4 separate regions of the Homo sapiens genome follow, and all the other regions are linked to region 4. The links are contacts of gene promoters, found by promoter capture Hi-C in blood cells and fetal thymus (Javierre and others, 2016). All regions are on one chromosome and are shown on one strand. Each heading gives the region's core, a stretch centred on a gene start or on the middle of the fragment in contact. The rest is flanking DNA. Distances are from core to core; before and after follow the strand shown. Region 1 overlaps ITGAD (integrin subunit alpha D). Region 2 overlaps ITGAX (integrin subunit alpha X). Region 3 has its middle 6.3 kb from the start of ARMC5. Region 4 holds the start of KAT8 (lysine acetyltransferase 8).

Region 1 (2,700 bases), core at 166-2,665, 290 kb after region 4:
CCTCTGCCTAGCGTGATTCCTGGGAAGGGACTCAGCTCAGAGCCAACTCCACGTAGCTGGAAATAAGGACCTCTGACCGACTGGGGGTAGGGTGGGGTCTGGGGTGGATCCCTGCCCCACCCCCACAGCATCCCTACAGGCATATCCTACAGGCCTCGAAGGTGCCTGGCACGTGGTGAGAATGGTGCCAGCGGCTGACCCTGGCAGAGGGCCAGGACTTGTCTCCAGCACCCATGTGCGTGTTGCTTTATCCTTGCAGTGATCCCACGTGGTAGCCACTGATATTACCTTCATTTTACAGATAGGGACACTGAAGTCCAGAGAAGTTAAGTAATGTGCCTGAATTCACCAATTAGCACGTGGCTGAGCTGGGGTTTAGCCCAGGCACACTGGCTCCAGAACACGCGCCCTGAACCACTTTGCTAAACATTCGCCCTTGATGCTTGTGGCACCCCTAGCATCTGTGTTTAATGAATATTTGTTGATTAAATGGATGAGGAGCCCACCTGGGTCCTGTGTTGTCATCCCTCTCTTTCCAGGCCATGTGGGAGGAAGGGAGCAGGGGGCTGGGGTGGCAGACTGGGGCCTCCTCCAAGGAGGGGTCGGAAACTAGGTGGGGATGCCAAGAACAGCCCCCGGGCTCTGTTGAGCAGGAGCTGCAGGAGGGGGTTGGGCCCCCGCAGTGCATCTCCGATTCCTCCCCATTCCCCCACAGAGTGTCCACATCAAGAGATGGACATCGTCTTCCTGATTGACGGCTCTGGAAGCATTGACCAAAATGACTTTAACCAGATGAAGGGCTTTGTCCAAGCTGTCATGGGCCAGTTTGAGGGCACTGACACCCTGGTGAAGACTGGGCACCTGGGGCTGGGGTTTGGGGGACGGGGGAGGCTGGCCTCGGGGAGGCATCCCGGGAGGGGTGGGGGCAGGCCAGTGAGCCGTGTGTGATGGGGCTGGGGTGGAGAATGAAGCTATGGTCCCAGCACAGGCCCAACTTGAGCCCTGACCTAGGAGGCCCTCTTGGCATTTAATAATGTATCCAAAAGCTACAGGAAATACAATGTTTCTGCTGTTTAAAAACATTGAAAGTGTTTAAAAAATAATTTTGCTATGGAATTTGACTGACATATTTTCTATGTAACTAATGATTTCTTTTTATTATTTTATTTTCCCATAACTAGTGCCTATGTATGTGCAAAAAAACCCCACTGTTTTGTTTTTTAAACAGGGTCTTGTTCTGTCATCCAGGCTGCAGTGTGGGGGTGCAATCATAGCTCACTGCAGACTTGATCTCCCAGGCTCAAGTGATCCTCTTTCCTCAGCCTCCTGAGTAGATGGGACTACAGGTGCATGCCACCATGCCTGGCTAATTTTTAAAAATTTTTATTGTAGAGATGGGGTCTTGTTATATTGCCCAACCTGGTCTCCAACTCCTGGCTCAAACAACCCTCCCACCTTGGCCTCTCAAAGTGCTGGGATTACAGGCATGAGTCACTACGCCCAGCCACAAATTCTTGAGAAGGGAGGAAATACACAAATTGATTTAATGTGTGATAAAATTTTTAAAAAGCTAAGGGTAGCAAATATTGTGGTTGGCAAAGTTATTTTTAATAAACTGTGAAGGAAATATCATTTGGTTTAGATTTTCCAGTTTATATTTTGTATTTTTGGGCCAATGAATTTTCTTCTCTGGGTTTCAGTATATTATTTGTAGGGCTTCAAAACACATGGGAAATGGTTTGTAAATCCAAAATAATTCCAAAATAAAGTTTATTAAAACTGAAAACAATATGGCTTGGTGTGGTGGCTCACACCTGTAATCCCAGCACTTTGGGAGGCTGAGGTGGGAGTATTGCTTGAGGCCAAGAGTTCGAGACCAGCCTGGGCAACATAGTGAGACCTTGTCTCTACCAAAAACAAAACAAAACAAAAAACAAAGCCAGGCATGTGACGTGTGCCTGTAGTTCCAGCTACTTGGAGGCTGAGGCAGGAGGATCACTTGAGGCCAGGAGTTTGAGAGACCCTGTCTCTACAAAAAATTAAAATAAAAACAATAGTAACAGGCACTGAGCCCTGGGCCCTCCCCACTGGCCTTTGCAGTTTGCACTGATGCAGTACTCAAACCTCCTGAAGATCCACTTCACCTTCACCCAATTCCGGACCAGCCCGAGCCAGCAGAGCCTGGTGGATCCCATCGTCCAACTGAAAGGCCTGACGTTCACGGCCACGGGCATCCTGACAGTGGTGTAAGCAACCCCGACCCCAGCCTGGCGATGTGACTGCCACCCCCACTTCCTAACCCTGGGTCAGCACAGCTCTTCTCAGAGGCTGAGGGAGGCTCCAGGGAAAGGGGCTACCAAGGGGCATGTCGGGGCTGCAGGGAGAACCTCCCCCCGGGGTGCTCCTGGTTGCCTCGCTGCCAGTCTCCCTGATATAGGACTAGGCTCCTCTGCAGCTATGCCTCCCCTTTGCCTGGTTCTGCAGAGCCTGGACCCCAGGACCCCTCCCCACCCCACAGCAGCCAGAGGCCCGGGCTTTGGCTCAGACACATCAGGCTCCCATCCTGGCTCCCCGTGAGCTACTCTGGGTGTAACCCTGGGGTGATGGGCTCTAAGTCTCAGTAACTCTCAGATGAAGATAAGCTCACAGCTTAGGATTGAGATCATGTGTGTGGGGTGCTCAGCCCGGGGCACGTAGGAG
Region 2 (2,700 bases), core at 65-2,564, 260 kb after region 4:
CCAGGCTGGAGTGCAGTTGTACCATCTCTGCTCACTGCAACCTCCGCCTCCTGGCTCCAAGCAATTCTCGTGCCTCAGCCTCCCAAGTAGCTGGGATTACAGGCACCTGCCACCACACCTGGCTAATTTTTGTATTTTTAGTAGAGATGGTGTTTCTCCATGTTGGCCAGGCTGGTCTTGAACTCCCGACCTCAGGTGATCTGCCTGTCTCAGCCTGTCAAAGTGCTGGGATTATAGGCGTGAGCACTGTGCCTGGTCTCTAAACTCTCTCTCTCTGTTTTTTTTTGAGAGAGAGAGAGTCTTGCTCTGTCATTCAGTGGCGTGATCTGGGCTCACTGCAACCTCTGTCCCCTGGGCTCAAACAATTCTCCTGTCTCAGCCTCCTGAGTAGCTGGGATTACAGGTGCACACCATCATGCCTGGCTAATTTTTGTATTTTTAGTAGAGACAGGGTTTCACCATGTTGGCCAGGGTGATCTCGAACTCCTGATCTCAGGTGATCCGCCCATCTCAGCATCTCAAAGTGCTGGGATTACAGGCCTGAGCCACCGCGCCTGGCCTCTAAACTCTCTTATAACCTAACTCAGCCACAGCCCTCATTCCAGGACATTCCAAGGCCCCACCGACCACCTGTCCTCTCATGCTCTAGCCAATGCCTTCTGCAGATGCCCCATGGTAGTTCACATCCACTTATGCGTCTTCTCTCTCCAGCCACGAACAATTCACCAAATACCTCAACTTCTCAGAGTCTGAGGAGAAGGAAAGCCATGTGGCCATGCACAGATACCAGGCAGGTGGTGGAGACGCAGGAGACTGGGCTGGGGTGGGAGGCTGGGAGCCGGAGACTGGGGAGGGATTTGGGCTTTGGCGTGGGCTCTGCCCTCAGTGCCCTCTGTGCAGGTCAATAACCTGGGACAGAGGGACCTGCCTGTCAGCATCAACTTCTGGGTGCCTGTGGAGCTGAACCAGGAGGCTGTGTGGATGGATGTGGAGGTCTCCCACCCCCAGGTACCCAAGGACTGCATGTGGCTCCTCCACGAATGCCCTTTCTACCTGGATTCCTTGTGCCCCATGTGGGTCCCTGATGTCCCAGCTGAGACACTTGTTCTCTGCATTTTCCCCCAGAACCCATCCCTTCGGTGCTCCTCAGAGAAAATCGCACCCCCAGCATCTGACTTCCTGGCGCACATTCAGAAGAATCCCGTGCTGGTGAGGAGGGCTCTGGGCTGGCCCTCACTGTAGGCCCCACATCAGAGGAATTTAACCCAGGAGTTCATGTTCCATATCCATCCTGCTGAAGTACCCTCTTGCATTCGGATATGGCCGCTGCCCTCAAGTCACACCGCATAATGCTGCCTCCCACCTTCACACTCATCTTTCTCAGCCCCATGCTATTTATCTGCCCCCAGGACTGCTCCATTGCTGGCTGCCTGCGGTTCCGCTGTGACGTCCCCTCCTTCAGCGTCCAGGAGGAGCTGGATTTCACCCTGAAGGGCAACCTCAGCTTTGGCTGGGTCCGCCAGGTGTGTGGGTGCAACGACAGAGCCCCTGCCCCAGACTCAGGCGGGACCTGGCATGTCTGTGCCCATCTGCAAGCCAGGGCACCCCCAGAGCTCTGAGCCTCCCCCAGAGCCAGTTCAACAGGTTTCCCCCAACCCCTTTGCAGATATTGCAGAAGAAGGTGTCGGTCGTGAGTGTGGCTGAAATTACGTTCGACACATCCGTGTACTCCCAGCTTCCAGGACAGGAGGCATTTATGAGAGCTCAGGTAGAGACCATGTGGAGGGCAGCGACCAGGCTGGAAAGAGGGCCCCTAGGGCTACATCTGTGGTGCTGGGTGGGGGGTTTGCAAGCCTTGGGGGAGGAGGGCGAAGGCCTCTGGGCAGGATAGCTGTCCCTAAGGGCACGGGTGCTGCTGTGTCTCACCTCTTGGAGCAGGGCCTGGGGAAGGAGGGGAGGGAGTTAAAGGTTGGGGAGCCTGGGAGGAGTCTGGGATAGTAGGAGGATGGGAGTGCTCTGACAGGGTCACTTCCACTTCAGACGACAACGGTGCTGGAGAAGTACAAGGTCCACAACCCCACCCCCCTCATCGTAGGCAGCTCCATTGGGGGTCTGTTGCTGCTGGCACTCATCACAGCGGTACTGTACAAAGTGAGTGTTTTATGCCACTCTTGACACCACCAGCATCTGGTCCCGCTCTTTTTGCAGAGTGAGAAGGAGCTCACTTTGAAGGCAGAGGCACATTCTTACTGGGTCACTTCATATGAGAAACTGCTTCCCACCTGCAATGTCACCTGTCCCCAGTGGCCCCCTGCTTTGTGATTCCCAGGCTTCCTCTAATATTTCTCCCTTTCTTTCCTGCTCTTCTCCATCATTCTACGTGTTTCCCTTGACAGCAGATTATCATATAAAAGCACAGACCTGGGTTTGAATGTCGACATCACCACGGGTTCTTTTTGTCTTTGACCATAGGCCAGTGTCTGCTCCACTCTGGGCCTTGATTTCTCAATGTGAAGGTGATTCTACCCCAGCTCATAGAATTTTGGCTAAATCTAGGCTGGGCACGGTGGCTCATGGCTGTAATCCCAGCAGTTTGGGAGATCGAGGCAGGTGGATCACTTGAAGTCAGGAGTTAAGAGACCAGCCTGGCCTACCTGGTGAAACCCCGTCTCTACTAAAAATACAAAAATTAGTTGGGCA
Region 3 (2,700 bases), core at 183-2,682, 340 kb after region 4:
ACCCTCCCCCACCTGCTGGAGCTCTGATACATGCTCTGGCCTGCTGCGTCTCACTCCCCACACCCGGCAGAGGCCTCTTTGGCTCTGCCTGCCCCTAGAGGCTGTAAGACAGCATTGTTCAGGAAAGGGAGGAAAGGGAATGGGTGTAGGAAAGGAAGAGCGGATCTCCTTTGAAGAATTATCTTTAAAAAAAATTATTTTTTTAGAGACAGGGTCTCACTCTGTTGCCCAGGCTGGGGTGCAGTGGCACAATCCTAGCTCACTGCAGTCTCAAATTCCTGGGCTCAAGCGGTCCTCCTGCCTCAGCCTCCTGAATAGCTGGGACTACAGTGAACATCACCACACCTGGCTGGTTTTTTAATTTTTTCTAGAGATGGGGTTTGCTATGTTGCCCAGGCTAGTCTCGAACTCCTGGGCTCAAAGCATCCTCTCACCTCAGCCTCTCAAAGTGCTGGGATTATAGGTGTGAGCCACCGCCTTTTTTTTTTTTTCTGATTTACTATAATATTTCTAGTAAGCCATTGGCTTAGAAACCAGATTCACTAATTAATTCATTTACCCTTTCATGATACAAAATTTTTTAACTGAGTGAGGCCTTTCCTGAGAATTGAGCACATGAGCTTTGGTGCATGGACCTGGAAATCTCTGCTTCTTGAACTCCTAGGGGCTTCCTTTACTTCATTCACTCCTGGTGCTCAGCAAATTTCTGAATGGGGGAGGTTGGCCAGCCTGGGAGAGGTCACCCACGCCAGGAAGTCTCAGTACCTCTCTATTTATCCTATCACTTGGGAATCCTCTAGGATCTGTTTCAGGGAGTCTCTGGTTAGCCCTGAGACATAAGTGGTGCGGGTGAGACTCCTGGGGCCTATCTCAGAGGTCCTCACACCCCTGAGATTAAATCAGTCAGGAGGCAGGGTGGAGAGAGGAGTGTCCTATCAGGTCTGAGGAGGTTGTCAACTTCCTGGACTTCTTGCTAAGGACTCCTCTTCCCACCCTTCATGGGTAGCTGAGGTCAGGGAATCTGTAGGGACAAGACTTTCTTTTAAATGCTAATCTGCTGACTAACCCTGAGTCTGGGAATGCCTCCAAAATGTCAAGCTGATGTGTTTTTTTATTTTTTGGTTTTGTTTTTTTTGTTTTTTTTTTGAAACGGAGTCTCACTCTTTCATCCAAACTGGGGTGCAGTGGCACGATCTTGGCTCACTGAAACCTCCACCTCCTGGGTTCAAGCAATTTTCCTGCCTCAACCTCCCAAGTAGCTGGGATTACAGGCACGTGCCACCATGCCTGGCTAATTTTTATATTTTTGGTAGAGACAGGGTTTCACCACGTTGGGCAGCCTGGTCTCGAACTCCTGACCTCAGGTGATCTGCCCACCTCGGCCTCCCAAAGCGCTGGGAATACAGGCGTGAGCCACCGTACCAAGACATCCCACAGCACCAGCCTGTGTGTGTCTCGCCAGGCTCAGAGCTGGGAACCTGGAACCCAGGACTGGGTGAGCTCAGAGACATAACTGTGACTGTACTGGAGTCAGTCTTATGCCCAGAGCTAAGCAGAAGCAGGGCCAGCCCAGAGGAGACGATGTTACCGACTCCCACCCCGTCCTGTCTAGCGCTTAGAGTACCTCTGTACTGGCTTGCTTCCTACAGTTGCTCTGGGAGGAATGTGTGCCAGAGACCCTGACCTCTGACCCAGGCATGCAAGGGTCTGCCTTGCCTAGTTGAGCCTGTGCACTCTGTCTCTGCCTCCCTTCAGATAGGGAAAGGAGCTTCAAATTACGGGGTGATGTCATAGCACGGAGTGGAGATGGGGTGGCAGGGAGACAGGGAGGCTCAGGGAAGGAGGCCAGGTATTTCACAGAGGAGTTCTGGGGGAGAAGAAGGAAAACGGCAGAGAAGGGAACAGGAAGGGGTGAAGGAAAGGGGAAAAGTGCCTTCACTGCATGGAAAGGTCCTTCTCACCCACAGTGGGGTGGGATGGAGACTGTAACCTCAAGTACTTTTCTGCAGGGGACAGGCAAGTAACACATATGAAACGTGCTGAGTCAGGGATGCAAGAGGGAGTGTCCCTGTTCCTATGTCCAGGACAGCCACTACTCAACGAACTGCTGCCATAAAAATCCAATGTTGCAGCATCTTCTGATATAAATAATAAAGCAGGCCGGGTGTGGTGACTGACGCCTGTAATCCTACCACTTTCGGAAGCCGAGGTGGGTGGGGGAGGGAAGGGCCGGGGCAGGGGATCTTTTCTTTTTTTTTTTGAAACGGAGTCTTGCTCTGTCACCCAGGCTGGATTGCAGTGACAGGATCTCCGCCCACTGCAAGCTCTGCCTCCTGGGTTCATGCCATTCTCTTGCCTCAGCCTCTTGAGTAGCTGGAACTATAGGCGCCTGCCACCATTTCCAGCTAATTTTTTGTATTTTTAGTAGAGACAGGATTTCACCTTGTTAGCCAGGAAGGTCTCGATCTCCTGACCTCGTGATCCGCCCACCTAGGCCTCCCAAAGTGCTGGGATTACAGGCGTGAGCCACCGTGCCCGGCCAGGAGGGGATCATTTGAGCCTAGGAGTTCAAGACCAGTCTGCAACCTGGCAAGATCCTGTCTCAATTAAAAAAAAAAAAAAACAAAAAAAACAACAACAAACCAAGCCCCAGAAATCGACTGTGATGTGAAATCTCCTTATTTAAATGTTGGCTCTTTA
Region 4 (2,700 bases), core at 121-2,620:
CCTCCGCCTCCCGGGTTCAAGCGATTCTCCTGCCTCAGCCTCCCGAGTAGCTGGGACTACAGGTGCGTGCCACCACGCCCGGCTAAATTTTGTATTTTTAGTAGAGACGGAGTTTCACGGTGTTAGCCAGGATGGTCTCGATCTCCGCCCGCCTCGGCCTCTCAAAGTGCTGAGATTACAGGCGTGAGCCACCACGCCCCGCCCAACTCGTCCTTTCTTTAGACTTTATCCTGTGAGGGTGAATTATGGCCTGTCCCTGGACACACCCGTTCTGCTTTCCCCGCACCAACTGTATCCCAAATAGGGGAAGTAGTCTCTTCAACCTTCAAAAATGGGGCACTGGCTGGGCACGGTGGCTCACGCCTGTAACCCTAGCACTTTGGGAGGCCGAGGCGGGCGGATCACCTGAGGTCAGGAGTTCGAGACCAGCCTGGCCAACAGGGTGAAGCCCTCTCTCTACTAAAAATACAAAAAATAGCCGGGCGTGGTGGCGCGCGATTGTAATCCCAGCTATTCAGGAGGCTGAGGCAGGAGAATCGCTTGAACCCGGGAGGCGGAGGCTGCAGTGAGCCGAGATCGCGTCACTGCACTCCAGCCTGGGCGACAGAGCGAGACTCCATCTCAAAAAAAAAAAAGGGGGGGGGGCGGGGAGCGACATTAGGCCAGCGCGAGTGTGCGGCTCCAGGCCACCAGGGCGGCCGCTCTGGCTCTGCCCTGTTAAAGTGGGGGCAGCGCCCGCTGAAAATTGGCACATCTTGGCTTCCGCAGGTACCAGGGCCTTTAAAAAGGTTCAGCTGGCCGGGCACGGTGGCTCACGCCTATAATCCCAGCACTTTGGGAGGTTGAGGCTGGCAGATCACGAGGTCAAGAGATCAAGACTATCCTGGACAACATGGTGAAACCCCGTCTCTACTAAAAATACAAAAATTAGATGGGCGTGGTGGCGCGCGCCTGCAGTCCCAGCTACCCGGGAGGCTGAGGCAGAGGAATCGCTTGAACCCGGAGGCGGAGGTTGCAGTGAGCCGAGATCGCGCCTCTGCACTCCAGCCTGGGCGACAGAGCATGATTCCGTCTCAAAATAAATAAATAAATAAATAAATAAATAAATTAAAAAAAGGTTGAGTTGAGTCATCGCATGAGGTAAGTCTGTCTCCTCTCCTCACCCATAGGCTGCAGCCACAGGTCCGCACGGAAAACCAGGAGCTCCAAGACTGCCGCACACTCAACATCCAACTCGCGGGGCCGCGGGGACGGCCACAGAAGCCAATCGGCTCCTGCTACATCACAGACCCCGCCCTCAAACCTTGAGGAGCCCGCCCCACGCACTGCTGACCCGGAGCCAAAAGAACTGCGTGGCGTCCGATTCTGGCGTCACTTCCCTTCCCGCGATGGCGGCACAGGGAGCTGCTGCGGCGGTTGCGGCGGGGACTTCAGGGGTCGCGGGGGAGGGCGAGCCCGGGCCCGGGGAGAATGCGGCCGCTGAGGGGACCGCCCCATCCCCGGGCCGCGTCTCTCCGCCGACCCCGGCGCGCGGCGAGCCGGAAGTCACGGTGGAGATCGGAGAAACGTACCTGTGCCGGCGACCGGATAGCACCTGGCGTGAGGGCGGGGCCCAGGGCTGGGGGCGGGGCGGAGCTCAGGGCCAGGGGGTGGGGCGGGGCCTGAGGACAGGCTGTCAGTGAGGCCAAGATCCGGGGGCTGGGAGTGGAGAGGAGGAGGGGCGGGGCTTGAGGAAAGAACGCCGCGTTCCGGGCGCTGAGAAACCAGCCGGGTTGTGGGAGGCTGTTGACCTTGAATTATGCCGAGCGACGCCTACAAACCCACCGCTCAGGCCTTCACCAGGATTGTTCCCATTCCACTTCCTTGCCCAGTCTTAGGCTTCATTCCTTTTTCTTGCTAACGCTGCTTCCTCACCCTCTCTTGTCTCTGCGTCTTCTTTTTCCATTTGTCCCTGGCAGCCATCCGCAGAGAGAAGACCTTCCAGAAACAACAGGCTTCCCTTTCCTAAAGTTCTGCTGCCTTCTCTCATTTTCAAAATTAACCCCAAACTCCTTAGGGTGGCATTCATTTTTGTGACCTCTCCAGTTTCTAGCCAACACTAGGAAAGGGCATTGCCAGGCCAGAACACACTGTGCCCTCTGAAGACCACACGCCCTTTACCACCTGTGCCCTTTGCTTGGAATGCTTTTTCTTCCCTTTCTCCTTGTTTGCCTGCCTAGCTCCTACTCATCCTCTTAGCTTCATATCCTTTGTGATGTCATCCTTGATTCCCCTTCAGGCAAAGTGAGTGGTTCCCTTCTCTATGTTCCTGCAACATTTTTTTCCTACCTCAGTCATAGTTTTTGTAACATTATGTTGTAATTTTCTCTCTCTGTCTTCCTCCATCATACTGGGAACTTCTGGAGGGCAGCACTTCTTGTGATTCATCACTGTGTCCTCTGTACCCGGCAACAACACAGCATAGGGCCAGACACGTAGTGGTTGCCTTACTCATTTATTGAATGCTCTGCTAATTGTCAGGTGCGCTGCTAAAAATTTTGGAGGCATTAATTCACCTTCTAAGGTTGGTACTATTATCCCTTTTGTCTTTTTTTTTTTTTTTTTTTTTGAGACAGGATCTCGCTCTGTCACCCAGGTGGGATTGCCGTGGCACGATGACAGCTCACTGAAGCCTAGACCTTCTAGGCTCAAGTGATCCTC

What was found. Contacts are between HindIII fragments. The CHiCAGO score rates a contact against its expected background, and 5 or more counts as called.
Region 1: a fragment that was not itself captured here is called in contact with the fragment with the promoter of KAT8 in region 4 in 1 of 17 cell types (monocytes); the score reaches 6.8 in monocytes.
Region 2: a fragment that was not itself captured here is called in contact with the fragment with the promoter of KAT8 in region 4 in 3 of 17 cell types (naive CD8 T cells, monocytes and neutrophils); the score reaches 6.9 in naive CD8 T cells.
Region 3: a fragment that was not itself captured here is called in contact with the fragment with the promoter of KAT8 in region 4 in 6 of 17 cell types (M0 macrophages, naive CD4 T cells, monocytes and 3 more); the score reaches 6.8 in M0 macrophages.

The regions. Positions count from the first base shown.
Region 1 is chr16:31,401,400-31,404,099 of GRCh38, forward strand. ITGAD (integrin subunit alpha D) reads left to right here. Exons shown (of 30, transcript NM_005353.3): 6 at 716-846; 7 at 2,101-2,246. Among named protein-coding and RNA genes, the nearest start is that of ITGAD, 9.4 kb to the left of the region's middle. The HindIII fragment of the contact is 7,259 bases long and covers 1-2,700 here.
Region 2 is chr16:31,378,857-31,381,556 of GRCh38, forward strand. ITGAX (integrin subunit alpha X) reads left to right here. Exons shown (of 30, transcript NM_000887.5): 24 at 712-790; 25 at 901-1,008; 26 at 1,126-1,209; 27 at 1,410-1,523; 28 at 1,667-1,768; 29 at 2,041-2,151. Among named protein-coding and RNA genes, the nearest start is that of ITGAD, 13 kb to the right of the region's middle. The HindIII fragment of the contact is 6,995 bases long and covers 1-2,700 here.
Region 3 is chr16:31,451,867-31,454,566 of GRCh38, forward strand. No RefSeq gene overlaps it. Among named protein-coding and RNA genes, the nearest start is that of ARMC5, 6.3 kb to the right of the region's middle. RefSeq lists enhancers at 1-236, 817-1,589, 1,590-2,361. The HindIII fragment of the contact is 3,667 bases long and covers 1-2,700 here.
Region 4 is chr16:31,116,294-31,118,993 of GRCh38, forward strand. It overlaps KAT8 (lysine acetyltransferase 8), which reads left to right and starts at 1,371. Exons shown (of 11, transcript NM_032188.3): 1 at 1,371-1,599. The coding sequence starts at 1,389. It also overlaps a transcript of BCKDK not described here. RefSeq lists silencers at 1,189-1,415, 1,315-1,664 and an enhancer at 1,835-1,954. The HindIII fragment of the contact is 10,033 bases long and covers 1-2,700 here.